Regions from separate parts of the Homo sapiens genome. Here region 1 is linked to region 2. The links are contacts of gene promoters, found by promoter capture Hi-C in blood cells and fetal thymus (Javierre and others, 2016). All regions are on one chromosome and are shown on one strand. The core of a region is centred on a gene start or on the middle of the fragment in contact, and the rest is flanking DNA. Distances in the headings are between cores, read along the strand shown. Region 1 has its middle 8.0 kb from the start of ASMT. Region 2 holds the start of ASMTL-AS1 (ASMTL antisense RNA 1).

Region 1 (6,883 bases), core at 1,058-3,557, 210 kb after region 2:
GGAGAATGGCGTGAACCGGGGAGGTGGAGCTTACAGTGAGCCGAGATCGCGCCACTGCACTCCAGCCTGGGCGACAGAGCGAGACTCCTGTCAAAAAAAAAAAAAAAAGCTGTGTATCTGTGTCAGTCTGTCCAGCCCAGCACTGAGCTTTTTGCCTGTTCAGTAGTTATTAGAGCGTTGCCAGGGCCGGGCATGGTGGCTCACACCTGTTATCCCAGCACTTTGGGAGGCCGAGGTAGGTGGATCACCTGAGGTCAGGAGTTCAAGACCAGCCTGGCCAACATGGTGAAACCCCGTCTCTACTAAAAACACAAAAAACTAGCCGGGCGTGGGGATGGTCACCTGTAATCCCAGCTACTCGGGAGGCTGAGGTAGGAGAATCGCTTGAATCTGGGGGGCAGAGGTTGCAGTGAGCCGAGATCACGCCACTGCACTCCAGCCTGGGCGACAGAGCGAGACTCCATCTCAAAAACAAACAAACAAACAAACAACGTTGCTAGGACCAGGTGTTGCTCTGGGCACCTGGGATATGGTGCTGGAAAAGACAGCACTCCCTGCAACGCTGAGGAATGTGTAGATACAGGGATGAGAAGTCCCAGTGATAGCTTCTCGAGAGAGCTGTGTGCGCAAGACAGAAGGGTGGACGTGGTGTGTCTGAGGTCAAGAAGTGCATGTGGCCGGGGGAAGGAGTAGGCAGAAGAGAAGCAGGAAAGGTGGACATGGAGCTGATCGCACTCATGAGGCTGACCCACTCCAGACTTTTGGGACGAGAAGCAAGAGGGGCTGTAAGCTGGGAGTGTGATGAGTGTGGCGGCTTGAAGTGCTGGTGGACTGGGCTAGGGGTTGATGGGAGAGAAGGTGGCAGAAATTGAATGCGTGTTGCCTTGTGATATGTTAGATGTGGGCAGTCTAGGAAAGCTGGAGAGCACCACCCCCAGGCCTATAGAATTGGGTATCTATGGAAGAGATTTAGGAATCTGAACTCCTTTTCTCTGTTTTCTCTTTTGTCTATCGCTCGTGCTCTCTCTCTCTCTCCTTCCTTCCTTCCCTCCCTCCCTTTCTTTTCCTTTTCTTTCCTTTTCTCTTTCTTTTTTCCTTTCCTTCCTTCCCTCTTTCCTATTTCTCTTTTATTTTTTGAGACGAATTCAAAAATTCTAAAATTTTTGAATTTTTAAGTAGAGGCAGGGTTTCTTCATGTTGGCCAGGCTGGTCTTGAACTCCTGACCTCAGGAGATCCACCAGCCTCGGCCTCTCAAAGTGCTGGGATTACAGGCGTGAGCCACCGCGCCCGGCTGAAATTTCTCTTCTTTGCTGTAGGGGTCAGTAGCAGTAAGTAGCGGCTGATAGGTGAGAATGGAGATTAATTGAAGCAACGCTGTTACTGATTAGATTTTGTCTTTACACTTGAGCCTGGAAGGAAGAAATGGAAGCATTCGACCCGAGGAATGTTGCCCCACAGATTTCTGGGGGGAGCATAGGAGATTGGTGTGTGCGTGCCCTGCCCTCCTCCCTCTCTCAACCCCTGTCAGTCTCTCCCCTGTTTTTCCCTGCTGTCTCTTCTCTCGCCCAGCTTCCCCTCTGCTTGTACTCTCTTCTGATCTCTGTTTTTGTCTCTGTCTCTCCTCCTTTCTTTTTTTTCTTTCTTTTTTTTTTTTTTGAGATGGAATCTCACCGTTGCCCAGGCTGGAGTGCAGTGGCGCGATCTCGGCCCAGTGCAACCTCCGCCTCCTGGGTTCAAGCAATTCTCTGCCTCAGCCTCCCAAGTAGCTGGGATTACAGGCACCTGCTGCCATGCCCGGCTAATTTTTTGTATTTTTGGTAGAGACGAGGTTTCACCATCTTGGCCAGGCTGGTCTTGAACTCCTGACCTCGTGATCCACCTGTCTTGGCCTCCCAAAATGCTGGGATTATAGGCGTGAGCCACCGCTCCCGGCCTGTCTCTCCTCCTCTCTTAATCCTTCCTTCTCTCCTCTCGCCCAGCTTCCCCTCTGCTTGCCCTCTCTCCCTATCTCTATTTTAGTCTCTCTTTGTCTCTCTCGGTCTTGTGATTTAGGGCACTTTGTGTTCAGTCCCTTTCTAGTGATTGGGATTATTATCCACTTAAAATATCCACAATAGGCCGGGTGCAGTGGCTCATCCCTGTAATCCCAGCACGTCGGGAGGTCGAGGCTGGTGGATCTCCTGAGGTCAGAAGTTCAAGACCAGCCTGACCAACATGGAGAAACCCTGTCTCTACTAAAAATACAAAAATTAGCCAGGCGTGTTGTCACATGCCTATAGTCGCAGCTACTCAGCAGGCTGAGGCAGGAGAATTACTTGAACCTGGGGGGCGGAGATTGCGGTGAGCTGAGATCGCACCATTGCACTCCAGCTTGGGCGACAAGAGTGAAACTCTGTCTCACAAAAAATAAAAAATAAAAAATAAAAATCCACAAGGAATTTCACTTCCATGTGGCAGAACAGAAAACGAATGGATTTATTGCAAAATACGAGTGAGAAAGTGTGATTCTCTCGTTCATACCCTTTTATGACACTTAGTTCTGAACCGATTTGCCTCGTGTCTTCAGTTGGGATCTCAGGATCTCTTTCAGCCAAAAAAATCAAACTTCCCTGTTGAGTATGGCCTGTGTCACGGTGACCATCCTCGGCTCCTTCCGTTTTTTTGTTTTTTTTCAAGACAGTCTCGCTCCGTCGCCCAGGCTGGAGTGCAGTGGCACAATCTCGGCTCTCCACAACCTCCGCCTCCCGGGTTCAAGTGATTCTCCTGCCTCAGCCTCCCAAGTAGCTGGGATTACAGGTGTCTGCCACCACACCTGGCTATTTTTTTTTTTTTTAATTTTTAGTAGAGATGGGGTTTCACCAGGTTGACCAGGCTGGTCTCAAGCTCCTGACCTCAGGTGATCCACCTGCCTCCCAAAGTGCTGGGAATATAGGCATCAACCACCGCACCCAGCCTCACCAGGTAAACTTTCAAGTTCAAAAGTGCAGCTTGGAATTCCAGAGGGAAGGAGGATGGGGATACGGGTACGTGTGAATAAAGCAGCGCTGTGTCTACGATTCCACTCTCTGTGCTCACGTGAACACATTACTCAGCTCCCACTCAGAAGTGAGAACACGCTGCGTTTGACTTTCTGTGTCTCTGTGATTTCAATTAAAGTAACGGCCTCCAGGGTAACGAAACTGCACTTCTATGCCCTAAATCTATAATAATACATCAAGGTAAAAAAAAAAAAAATGGGCCAGGTGCAGTGGCTGACGCCTGTCATCCCAGCACTCTGGGAGGCTGAGGCAGGCAGATCACCCGAGGTCAGGAGTTCCAGACCAGCCCAGCCAACACGGTGAAACCCCATCTCTACTAAAAATACAAAAATTACCTGGACATGGAGGTGCGTGCCTGTAGTCCCAGCTACTCGGGAGGCTGAGGCAGGAGAATCGCTTGAACCCGGGAGGCGGAGGTTGCAGTGAGCCGAGATCACCCCACTGCACACCAGCCTGGATGACAGAGTGAGATTCCATCTCAAATAAATAAATAAATAAATAAAATGTATTTCAAAAGTGCCAATATGACATGAACTGCTGTTAATTTGTTCACCTGTATTGTTAAAATGGGTGAATACGGTTACCAGATTGTGATCATGTTCAAATTCCATAGGCCGCAGCCTTCGGGATGAAGCAAAGAGTTTTTGAAAAATTACATATTCTATGTCTAAAATGGCACCATCTGCATTTTTGAAAAATTTTAGATAATATTACAAATGCGTAGGTTGGCTCATGCCTGTAATCCCAGCACTCTGGGAGGCCGAGGCAGGAGGATAGCTTGAGCCCAGGAGTTTGAGAACAGCCTGGGCAACATAGCAAGACCCCATCTCTACAAAGATAATTAATCAGGCTTGGTGGCAGGCACCTGTAGTCCCAGCTACTCAGGAGGCTGAGGCAGGAGGATTGACTGAGCCCAGGCATTCGAGACCAGCCTGGGCAACATGGTGAGAGCTTGTCTCTAGCAAACATACAGAAACTTTAAAGTTTTTAAAGTAGCTGGGCGTGGTGGTGGGTGCCTGTGGCCCCAGCTACTCGGGAGGCTGAGGCAGGAGGATCGCTTGACCCCAGGAGTTCAAGGCTGCAGGGAGAAATGATGGTGCCCCTGCACTCCAGCCTGAGCGACAGAGTGAGACCCCATCTCTAAAAGAGAGACCCTCTGTCTCTAAAAAGAAAAACAGACCGGGCGCGGTGGCTCACGCCTGTAATCCCAGCACTTCGGGAGGCCCAGGCGGGCGGATCACGAGGTCAGGAGATCGAGACCATCCTGGCTAACACGGTGAAACCCCGTCTCTACTAAAAATACAAAAAAAACTAGCCGGGCGTGGTGACGGGCGCCTGTGGTCCCAGCTACTCCGGAGGCTGAGGCAGGAGAACGGTGTGAACCCGGGAGGCGGAGCTTGCAGTGAGAGGCGATTGCGCCACTGCACTCCAGCCTGGGCGACAGAGCGAGACTCCATCTCAAAAAAAGTAAAACAATAAAGAGTATAGAAAAACATGCATGCATGGGGGGTATAGGAGAGGTCCCAGCCCTCAGCCGTAGCCATGGATGTCCAGGTGGTGATGTGTTGCCCTGGCCCGCCCCGCAGGCCTCCAGCATCTCCAACAGCGGCTTCCCAGGGGATGCTGAAGCTGCGGCCGGACCGGCCAGCTCGGGCAGGGGTGAGCGGAGCTGCATCACCCAGGCATCCCGTCTGGGACCTCCTCCCATGCCTCCTTCCTGGGCACCTGCCCCTCCTCACTAGCTCATCCTCCTTCCCACCTGGTGGAGGACACGCACACCCTCCTGGTGGCGTCCTCAAGCCCCGTCCACCTGCCCAGGAGCTGGGGCATCCTGTGTCTCCCGCCTTGCTCTCCTGCACAGCCTGACTCAGAGCGGGAGCTCGACCCCCTACCCTCCCCGCTGTACGCTGCCCCAGCAAACCTCCCGAGTTTGCACCCGGCCACTGGATCGGCCTGCACAGGGGCTGCCGCCTCCGTCCCAGATGGCAGGGGCTTTTCCCTGCACCCCACCTCACTCAGCTCATGCCTCTGCTCCTGGTGAAAAACTTTTCCCATCACTCCGTCCCGTCCCCTCTCTGCAGCAAATGACTCTTGTCCAGGCTGTCCAGGCTGCCAGAGACCACCGAGGCACTCAGTCCGGAAGCCCATCTGTGCCAGGGTCATTGGGAGGTAAAGGCAACAGGCTTTACCTCTCCAGGCCACCCCTGCGCCTACTCCAGCTAAGACTCCAGGCCACCCCTGACCCTACTCCAGCCAAGCCTCCAGGTCACCCCTGCCCCTACTCCAGCCAAGCCTCCAGGTCACCCCTGTCCCTACTCCAGGGGCTGAGCGCGGTGGCTCACGCCTGTAATCCCAGCACTTTGGGACTCCGAGTTGGGCGGATCACGAAGTCAGGAGATCGAGACCATCCTGGCTAACACGGTGAAATGCCGTCTCTACTAAAAATACAAAAACAAAATTAGCCGAGTGTGGTGGCAGGTGCCTGTAGTCCCAGCTACTGGGGAGGCTGAGGCAGGAGAATGGCGTGAACCCGGGAGGCGGAGCTTGCAGTGAGCCAAGATCACGCCACTGCACTCCAGCCTGGGTGACAGAGCGAGACTCCGTCTCAAAAAAAAAAAAAAAAAGCAACAGTATGTTCCCCTGGGAGAACGGAGGGGGCGGCTGTTTACAGTTGCCCCAGGGCAGGACCTGCACACTGGACCATCCAGGGCCAGTCACCCCACAGGCATCTCAGACTCCACACATCCCCGCCAAACCCCAGCCCTGGGTCTTCTGCATTCTGGGGACATGGGGACACCACGCTGGTCGGTAGGGTCCCAGGCTCTTCTCAATCTCTCTCGGGCCCCTCCTCTCCTGCTGCCGCTGCCGCGGTGAGACTCCGAGGCCTGTAGGAAGCTTCAGGTGCCTGAGCCTCCAGTACAGCCCTTCCCCTACTCCACCCAAGCCTCCAGGCCACCCCTGTTCCTACTGCAGCCAAATCTCCAGGCCGCCCCTGTCCCCTACTCAAACCAAGCCTCCAGACCGCCCCTGTCCTCTACTCCAGCCAAGCCTCCAGGCCGCCCCTGTCCTCTACTCCAGCCAAGCCTCCAGGCTGCCCGTGTCCCCTACTCCAGCCAAAGCTCCAGGCCGCCCCTGCCCCTACTCCAGCCAAAGCTCCAGGCCACCCCTGTCCCCTACTCCACCCAAGCCTCCAGGAGGCCCTGTCACCTACTCCAGCCAAGCCTCCAGGCCAGTCCTTCCTTTACTCCAGCCAAGCCTCCAGGCCACCCCTGTCCCTACTGCAGCCAAACCTCCAGGCCGCCGCTGTCCCCTACTCAAACCAAGCCTCCAGGCCGCCCCTGCTCCTCCTCCAGCCAAGCCTCCAGGCCACCCCTGTCCCCTGCTCCAGCCAAAGCTCCAGGCCGCCCCGCCCCTGCTCCAGCCAACCCTCCAGGCCGCCCCTGCCCCTGTTCCAGCCAAGCGTCCAGGTCGCCCCCGTTCCTACTCCAGCCAAACCTCCAGGCCACTCCTGCCCCTGTAGCAGGACTAGCCGCGGATAAAACCCCTCAGACACCAGGTTTAGGAAGGTTTTGGCTTTATTCGGCCGGAAGCGTTGGCGGACTCACGTCTCGAGAACCGGGCTCTCCGAAGACAGAGCTCCTGGCCCTTTGAAAGGCTTACAACTCTAAGGGGTTCCACGTGAAAGGGTTCTGATAGATTGAGAGCACGTGTGGTTAGAGTCGGGGGTTAATGTTTTAACCTCAGGCCTGGTCAGGGGTGCCGGCTGGTCTTGCCACTGACTTCATTCCTGTTGTTTTTCAACTTTTACTTCCTCCTTCTCTTCAGAGACAGGAGATAGTAAAAT
Region 2 (7,405 bases), core at 4,035-6,534:
CCAGGCCTGAGCCCTGCAACACGGCGTTCCCTTTCCAAGTCTGCAAAGCCTGTCTTAGGGGAGAGAAGAAGTTTCCTTCCATGCGGGTGGGGACGGCTAACCATGTCCAGACACTGAGACCGGTGCTCTGTGTGCTCAGCCTTCAGCCTGCACTGGCTTGGTGGCTTGGTGACCCGCCAGCAGGGTGGTGCTGTCTGTGGGCTCTGCTCAAGCTCCTCTCAGAGCCAGGAGGATGCCCGCCTGCTTGGGCCTGGCTCCCAGGATGTGCTTGGCAAATGCTTCTGGGATGGATGGATGGATGGGTGAGTGGATAACGGATGGATGGATAATGGATAGATGGATAATGGATAGATGGATGGATGGATGGATGATGGATGGATGGATAATGAATGGGTGGGTGGATGGATGGATGTGCTCGATCGGCAAATGCTTCTGGAATGGATGGATAATTGGATGGGTAATGGGTGGGTGGATGGATAATGGATGGATGGATGGATAATGGATGGATGGATGGATAATGGATAGATGGATGGATAATGTATAGATGGATGGATGATGGATGGATGGATGGATAATGGGTGGATGGATGATGGATAATGGGTGGATGGATGAATAATGGATGCTTCTGGGATGGATGGATAATGAGTGGGTGGATGGATAATGAATGGGTGGATGGACAGATGGATAGATGGATATGTTTGCTTGGCAAATGATTCTAGAATGAATGGATGGATGGATAATGAATGGGTGGGTGGGTGGATGGATGGATGCACTCTGTTGGCAAATGCTTCTGGGATGGATGGATGGATAATGGATGGATAGATGGATAATCAATGAGTGGGTGGATGGATGGATAGATGGATGTGTTTGCTTGGTAAATGATTCTGGAATGGATGGGTGGATGGATGGATGGATGCGCTCGATCGGCAAATGCTTCTGGAATGGATGGATAATTGGATGGGTAATGGGTGGGTGGATGGATGCATGGATAGATGGATGTGCTCACTCAGCAAATGCTTCTGGAATGAATGGATGATGGATGGATGAATAGATGGATGGATGGATGAATGGATGGATGGATGGATGGATGAATGAATTGCTAATTGGGGCTGTTTTTCCATACAGAGTGCTGCACGTGGGACTTAGCCTTGGACACTAACTCCTTTGCCCCTCGTATCTGGGAGGGAACAACACAGTTGCTATGCCTGACTAGGGCATGACCTGGGAGGCCTTTGGGGCCACACAGCCTCCTTGGGAAAGGAGGATCAGGTGGGCCTCACACCCAGGAATTGGAAGTGGGAGAGACAACAGCTGCTGGGTAGTGGGGGTAGAGCTGTGTCTCTCACTGCCCTGCCCCTCCAAGGACCAAGAAGAAAGGAATGAGCCCCGATCCGCCTGCCAGGTACCCACCCATGAGAACCCCTTCTCTGCCAGCATCTGATAAAATTACCTGCGTAGCTTTAGAGATCACTGCTGCCTGACCAGCAGCCGCTCTGCTGGAATCTGTCCAGAAAGCCCCTTGGGGCTCAGAAAAGTAGGTGGGTTAATAATAGAAGTAGATGTGGGTTTTTTTGTTTGTGTGTTTATTGAGACGGAGTCTTGCTCTGTGGCCCAGGCTGGAGTGCAGTGGCGTGATCTCGGCTCGCTGCAATCCCTGCCTCCCAGGTTCAAGCATGTCTTCTGCCTCAGCCTCCCAAGTAGCTGGGATAGCAAGTGTGCACCACCACGCCTGATTTTTGTATTTTTAGTAGAGATGGGGTTCCATCCATCCATTCCAGAAGCATTTGGCAAGCACATCCTGGGTGCCAGGCCCAAGCAGGCTGGTCTCAAACTCCTGACCTCAAGTGATCCGCCCACCTCGGCCTCCCAAAGTGCCGGGATGACAGCTGTGAGCCACCGCGCCCCGCCCAGAAGCAGAGGTGTTTTAACGGGAAGACTTCAGGCTTCATCGGACGGCCGGGAAGGAATCAGAGCAGGGGTGAGGTTGGCTTTGTGCGGGGTGGGGTGGGGTGCCAGGCTCTGTGTCGGGTGGGGGCAGCAGCACATCTTTTGTAATTAATCATTGCCGAGGCTCTGCCTGTACGAAGTGTGGTCCGGGGAGGGCTGATGAGGCTGCAGGATGAGGGGGCTTGACAGACCCCTTTCCCCAGAAGAGGGCCCCCAAAAGGCATTGCCCCTGAAGAGGGCTCCCCAAGACCTCATCCCTGAAAAGGGACTCCCAGGGTCACCCCCCTGAAAAGGGCTCCTCAAAAGGCCCCCCGAACGGGGTCCCCCCAAGACTGCCCTCTGAAGGAGGCCCCCGAAGACTTCCCCCGTGAAGGTGCCCCCCAAGACCTGCCCCCTGGAAGAGGGCTCCCCAAGACCTCTCCCCCTAGAAGAGCCCCCTAAGACTTTTACCCTGGAAAAGGGCTCTCTGCAAAGCTTCCCTGGACGTGCGCCTTCGAGCTGGGCAGGTAGGGAGGAGCTGTGTACTCGACATCATCCTTAGGATCTGTTGTCCTCCCGCTTCCCCTGCCCCGGCCCCCAGATGAATCCAGAGGCTGTTTTAGAGCCAGACGGACACTCCTGGTATGCACCAGACACTCATAGTGCAGTGCTCGCTGAGTAGAGGAGGAGTTAGTGGGTGAACCCGGCCCGCCAGGCTGCCCTGCACAGAATTCCAGCCTTGTCACCCCACTGGTTTTTAAATCATCACAATCCTCGGGATGTTCTGTGCATGCCACACACAGACTCTTAAGAGTCCAGAGGTCCTGTTTTTGCACAGTTACTCCAATGAATAAAAAGACGGGCTGGGCGTGGTGGCTCACGCCTGTCATCCGAGCACTTTGGGAGGCCGAGGCGGGGTGGATTGCCTGAAGTCAAGAGCTGAAGACCAGCCTGGCCAACATGGTGAAACCTCGTCTCTACTGAAAATACAAAAAAATTAGCTGGGCGTGGTGGTGGGCGCCTGTAATTTTAGCTATTGCGGAGGCTAAGGCAGGAGAATCGCTTGAACCCGGGAGGCGGAGGTTGCAGTGAGCCGAGATCACACCACTGCACTCCAGCCTGGGCGACAGTGAGACTGTCTCAAAAAAAAAAAAAAAAAAAAATTTCTAGCAGACACTGAAGGGAGAGGGAGAGGAACAAGCCCCAGGGACCCTTTATCCGACTTCCTTCCACCTGGGGGACTCCCTCCACGGGCCCTTGCTTTAAGGGCAAATGGCGAGGGCACCAGAACACAGGGAGGCCATGCCGGAGGTCCCTGCTGCAACCATGCGGCCCCCCAGCTCACTCCCAGCAGCCAAGACGAAGGGGGGCCTGGGCTCCCCCTAGGGCAGGCGCCTCTGATTCTCTCCACCGAGAGGCACCTCCCATGCCGGCCTCTTCCTGGGGTGACTCCCAGAACCTTCTTGGACCCATGAACATTTCAATCTGGGGTGGGGCCTTCCCTGGGCATCCAAGTGGTGGGAATCTGTCCCTAGCCCCTAGAACTCCTGGAGGGCTGGGCCCACCTCTGTCTGCATCCCGTCCCCATTCCCCGCCCCGGGTGGCAGGGGCTGGAGAGGAAGGAGCTTCAGGCTTCAAAACCATCAAAGCAGGTTTCTTCCGAGATGGCCAGTGGTCACCTGAGATGGAGCAGAGAGCACCTGTGGCGGGCATCTTCTCTAGAAGCCGCCTGTGAGCCCTACGGAGGCCCTGGGCTTCGTGCCGTAAGACAGACGGTGTCCTGCAGGTACGTGGGGGAACCCTGTAGGCAGGGACTTTGCCTGCTTTCTCAGAACAGGACAGAGGAGTTTGGCTGGGGCAGCCCGAGGTGACCGGGATGCTGTCGCCCCAGCTCTGGGCCAGGCTGATGTGGGAAGGGAGGAAGGAGGGACAGTTACGGGCCAGGCTGACGTGGGAAGGGAGGGAGGAGGGAGGTAGGAGGGACAGAGGCCTGGCTGCTCTGCAGGGCTGGGCTCCGTGGCATCTCCTGGTGGCTGTCAGGTCCTGCCTGGCCCCACGCTGAGGCCAGTGTGATGGAGGGGCCTGGAAGCCTCATCCTTCTTGATTGCCACGCGGTGAGGGCCACAGGCATGCGCCACCGCACTGGACTCCCCCTTTCATCATCAAAGCCAAATTTTCTTCTTGTTTCATCTAGGCCTCCCATGGAGACACCATGTGTGATTGTAAAAAAAAAAAAAAAATGAGTCAGGCCGGGCACGGTGGCTCACGCCTGCAATGCCAGCACTTTAGGAGGCCGAGGTGGGCAGATCACCTGAGGTCAGGAGTTCGAGACCAGCCTGGCCAACATGGTGAAACCCCGTCTCTACTAAAAATAGAAAAATTAGCCGCGTGTGGTGGCGCATGCCCGTAATCCCTGCACTGTGGGAGGCCGAGGTGGGCGGATCACCTGAGGTTAGGAGTTCTAGACCACCCTGGCCAACATGGTGAAACCCCGTCTCTACTAAAAATACAAAAATTAGCTGGGTTTGGTGGTGCGTGCCTGTAATCCCAGCACTTTGGGAGGCCAAGGTGGGCGGATTACCTGAGGTCGGGAGTTCCAGACCAACCTGGCCAACATGGTGAAACCCCATCTCTACTAAAAACACAAAAATTAGGCGGGCATGGTGGTGGGTGCCTGTAATCCCAGCTACTCAGGAGGCTGAGACAGGATAACTACTTGATCCCGGGAGGTGGAGGTTGTAGTGAGCCAAGATCGTGCCATTGCACTCCAGCCTGGGCAACAGAGTGAGATTCTGTCTCAAAAAAGAAAAAAACAGACCAAAAAAAAAACGGAGTCTGTCCAGAATTATACACAGTCACCTGTGCCAGGTAACAACCCTTCAGTCAACAACGGCCTTCCTAGACAGCGGAGGTCCCAGGAGATGGTAATACAGTAGTTTTCGTGTGCCTTTATTTGTAGACACACAAATCCCTACCATTGTATTACAGCAGCCTGCAGCACTGGGCACACTCACCTGCTGTCCAGGTTTGTAGCCCGGGAGCCTGGGGCCCTGCCGCACAGCCCAGGTGAGTAGCAGGCTGTATGTGCCACGGCGGTATGTGTGAGTGCACCCCGTGATGGGCACACAAAGAGAATTGCCTAAGGATGCATTTCCCGAAACAGGTCCCTGTCATTCAGTGACACACGTGACTGTGTGTGTGTGTGTGTGTGTGTGCGCACAGATGGGTGTGTATGTGTATGTATACACACCTGAACACTCACACCTCTACACACGTGCCTGTACACGGATAGAACACATAATTTACAGAATTTATGGAACACATAATTTATATTACATAAAATATATAGAGATCAGTTTTGTTTTCTTTTATTTATTTATTTAGACGGAGTCTCACTCTGTCGCCCAGGCTGGAGTGCAGTGGCACAATCTCGGCTCACTGCAACCTCCACCTACTGGGTTCAAGCCATCCTCCTGTCTCAGCCTCCCCCCTGTAGCTGGGATTATAGGCTCCTGCCACTATGCCCGGCTAGTGTTTGTATTTTGTGTAGAGACAGGATTTCACTCTGTTGGCCAGGCTGGTCTCGAATTCCTGACCACAGGTGATCCGCCCACCTCAGCCTCCCAAAGTGCTGGGATGACAGGCGTGAGCCACTGCACCCAGCCTATTTCAGCTGTTTTCTTAAAGCACAAAGCAACCTACACATTCTTTTGTGATACCAGGCCACTGTAAGGGTGGAGCAGCATGTGACTTTGGTGTTATTGAGATCATCCGTGACCATTGCAGAAAACCACTCCCATCTGTGCAGTGAGCACCTTGAAATAGGCCGCCCAGGAGGCAGAGGGTGCACCTTGAAATTGGGCTAGGAGGCGGAGCTTGCGCCTTGAAATAGGCCGCCCGGGAGGCGGGGCTTGCACCTTGAAATAGGCCGCCCAGAAGGCGGGGTTGCACCTTGAAATAGGCCACCCAGGAGGCGGGGCTTGCCCCTTGAAATAGGCCGCCCAGGAGGCGGGGTTGCACCTTGAAATAGGCTGCCTGGGAGGCAGAGCTCGCACCTTGATATAGGCCGCCCAGGAGGCAGGGCTTGCCCCTTGAAATAGGCCGCCCGGGAGGTGGGGTTGCACCTTGAAACAGGCCGCCTGGGAGGCGGAGCTTGCACCTTGTAATAGGCCGCCCGGGAGGCGGGGCTTGCACCTTGAAATAGGCCTAGAAGGTGGGGCTTCCACCTTGAAATAGGCCGCCCAGGAGGCGGAGTTTGCACCTTGAAATAGACTGCCCAGGAGGCGGAGGTTGCAGTGAGCCGAGATTGCATTATTGTACTCCAGTCTGGGTAAGAAGAGCTAAACTCCAGAGTCTGTCTCAGAAAAAGGAAAACAGCTGAAATATAGGAGACTGACGCCCAGCCCAGGAACAGGTAAGCTGGGTGCACGCGCCGTGAAAACAGCACCTAGGCCTGCTCCGGTTCTCGCTTTGCAGATGCCTCCTGAACCTCAGTGCCTCCTAAGGTCAAGGCTGTGAGTTAAAGGGCTCCACCCCAGCCCAGCCCCAGGTTGGCCCAGCCATTCCCTGGTGGAGGGGCCAGGGAGGAAAGGGGGCTGTGTGGGCACCAGAGGGTGAACTGAGGTCTGAGGGTCGGGACACAGGCCGGGAACAGCAGCTGGGAGCGGAGCACGGGGGAAACGTGGATGCGCTGAGCTCCCTACAACCGCAGTGAGCATGTGCCCAGGAGGGCCTCACGGGGTGGGTGTGAGTCTGGCCTGCCTGGGCTCGGGGTGGGGGGTGTTTACAGACGCATTTCAGCCCCGCAGCAGGGGCTGGGGAGGTCCCGCTCGTGACAGTCTCTGCACCAAGGCAGGAGAGATGGAAGCCGCCCAGAGAACTGCCACTCCATAGCCTGTGGGCATCCAGGGGTGAGCGGCAGCGATGGCGCCCCATGGAGGAAACACACTGGAAATCGTGCAGAAGATGGGAAGATGCAGGCTGGAGTGCGGAGAAGGACTGAGACCCTGCCTGGTAGACGGCACCGTCACAGCAGCCGTCTGCCTGCTAGGAGGTAGGAGAAAGCCCTGTCCCCACCGCCCTCCCCGGGAGTCCCCACTGGCTACTCTGGAAGGCTGCTGGTTCCCAGAACATCCGTGGGCTGAACAGTTATTCCTGGCTGTCCCTCCGTCCCCTCCTCCCCGAATGCAGCCTCCATCTCCTCCTCTAAAAATGCAGCCTCCATCCCCTCCTCCCCCAATTCAGCCTCCGTCCCCTCCTCCCTGAATGCAGCCTCCTTCCCCCCTCCCAAAATTCAGCCTCTGTCCCCACTCCCCAAATACAGCCTCTTTCCCTTCCTCCCCCAATACAGCTTCCTTCCCAAAAGCAGCCTCCTTTCCCTCCTCCTCCCCAAATGCAGCCTCCTTCCCCCTCCCAAAATGCAGCCTCTGTCCCCACTCCCCAAATGCAGCCTCCTTCCCCTCCTCCCCAAATGCAGCCT

What was found. The method cuts DNA at HindIII sites, captures the fragments that hold promoters and counts their contacts. A CHiCAGO score of 5 or more calls a contact.
Region 1: a fragment that was not itself captured here is called in contact with the fragment with the promoter of ASMTL-AS1 in region 2 in 2 of 17 cell types (naive CD8 T cells and neutrophils); the score reaches 6.4 in naive CD8 T cells.

What each region holds. Positions count from the first base shown.
Region 1 is chrX:1,603,596-1,610,478 of GRCh38, forward strand. No RefSeq gene overlaps it. Among named protein-coding and RNA genes, the nearest start is that of ASMT, 8.0 kb to the right of the region's middle. RefSeq lists a silencer at 4,681-4,853 and enhancers at 5,870-6,454, 6,455-6,883. The HindIII fragment of the contact is 7,250 bases long and covers 1-5,932 here.
Region 2 is chrX:1,395,247-1,402,651 of GRCh38, forward strand. It overlaps ASMTL-AS1 (ASMTL antisense RNA 1), which reads left to right and starts at 5,285. Exons shown (of 6, transcript NR_026711.1): 1 at 5,285-5,340; 2 at 6,216-6,979. LINC00106 (long intergenic non-protein coding RNA 106) reads left to right here and starts at 1,779. Exons shown (of 3, transcript NR_130733.1): 1 at 1,779-1,978; 2 at 3,579-3,712; 3 at 4,121-4,166. LOC124900597 (serine/arginine repetitive matrix protein 1-like) reads left to right here. Exons shown (of 5, transcript XM_011546186.2): 3 at 1-302; 4 at 1,126-1,978; 5 at 3,579-3,615. The coding sequence ends at 1,146. The HindIII fragment of the contact is 21,745 bases long and covers 2,420-7,405 here.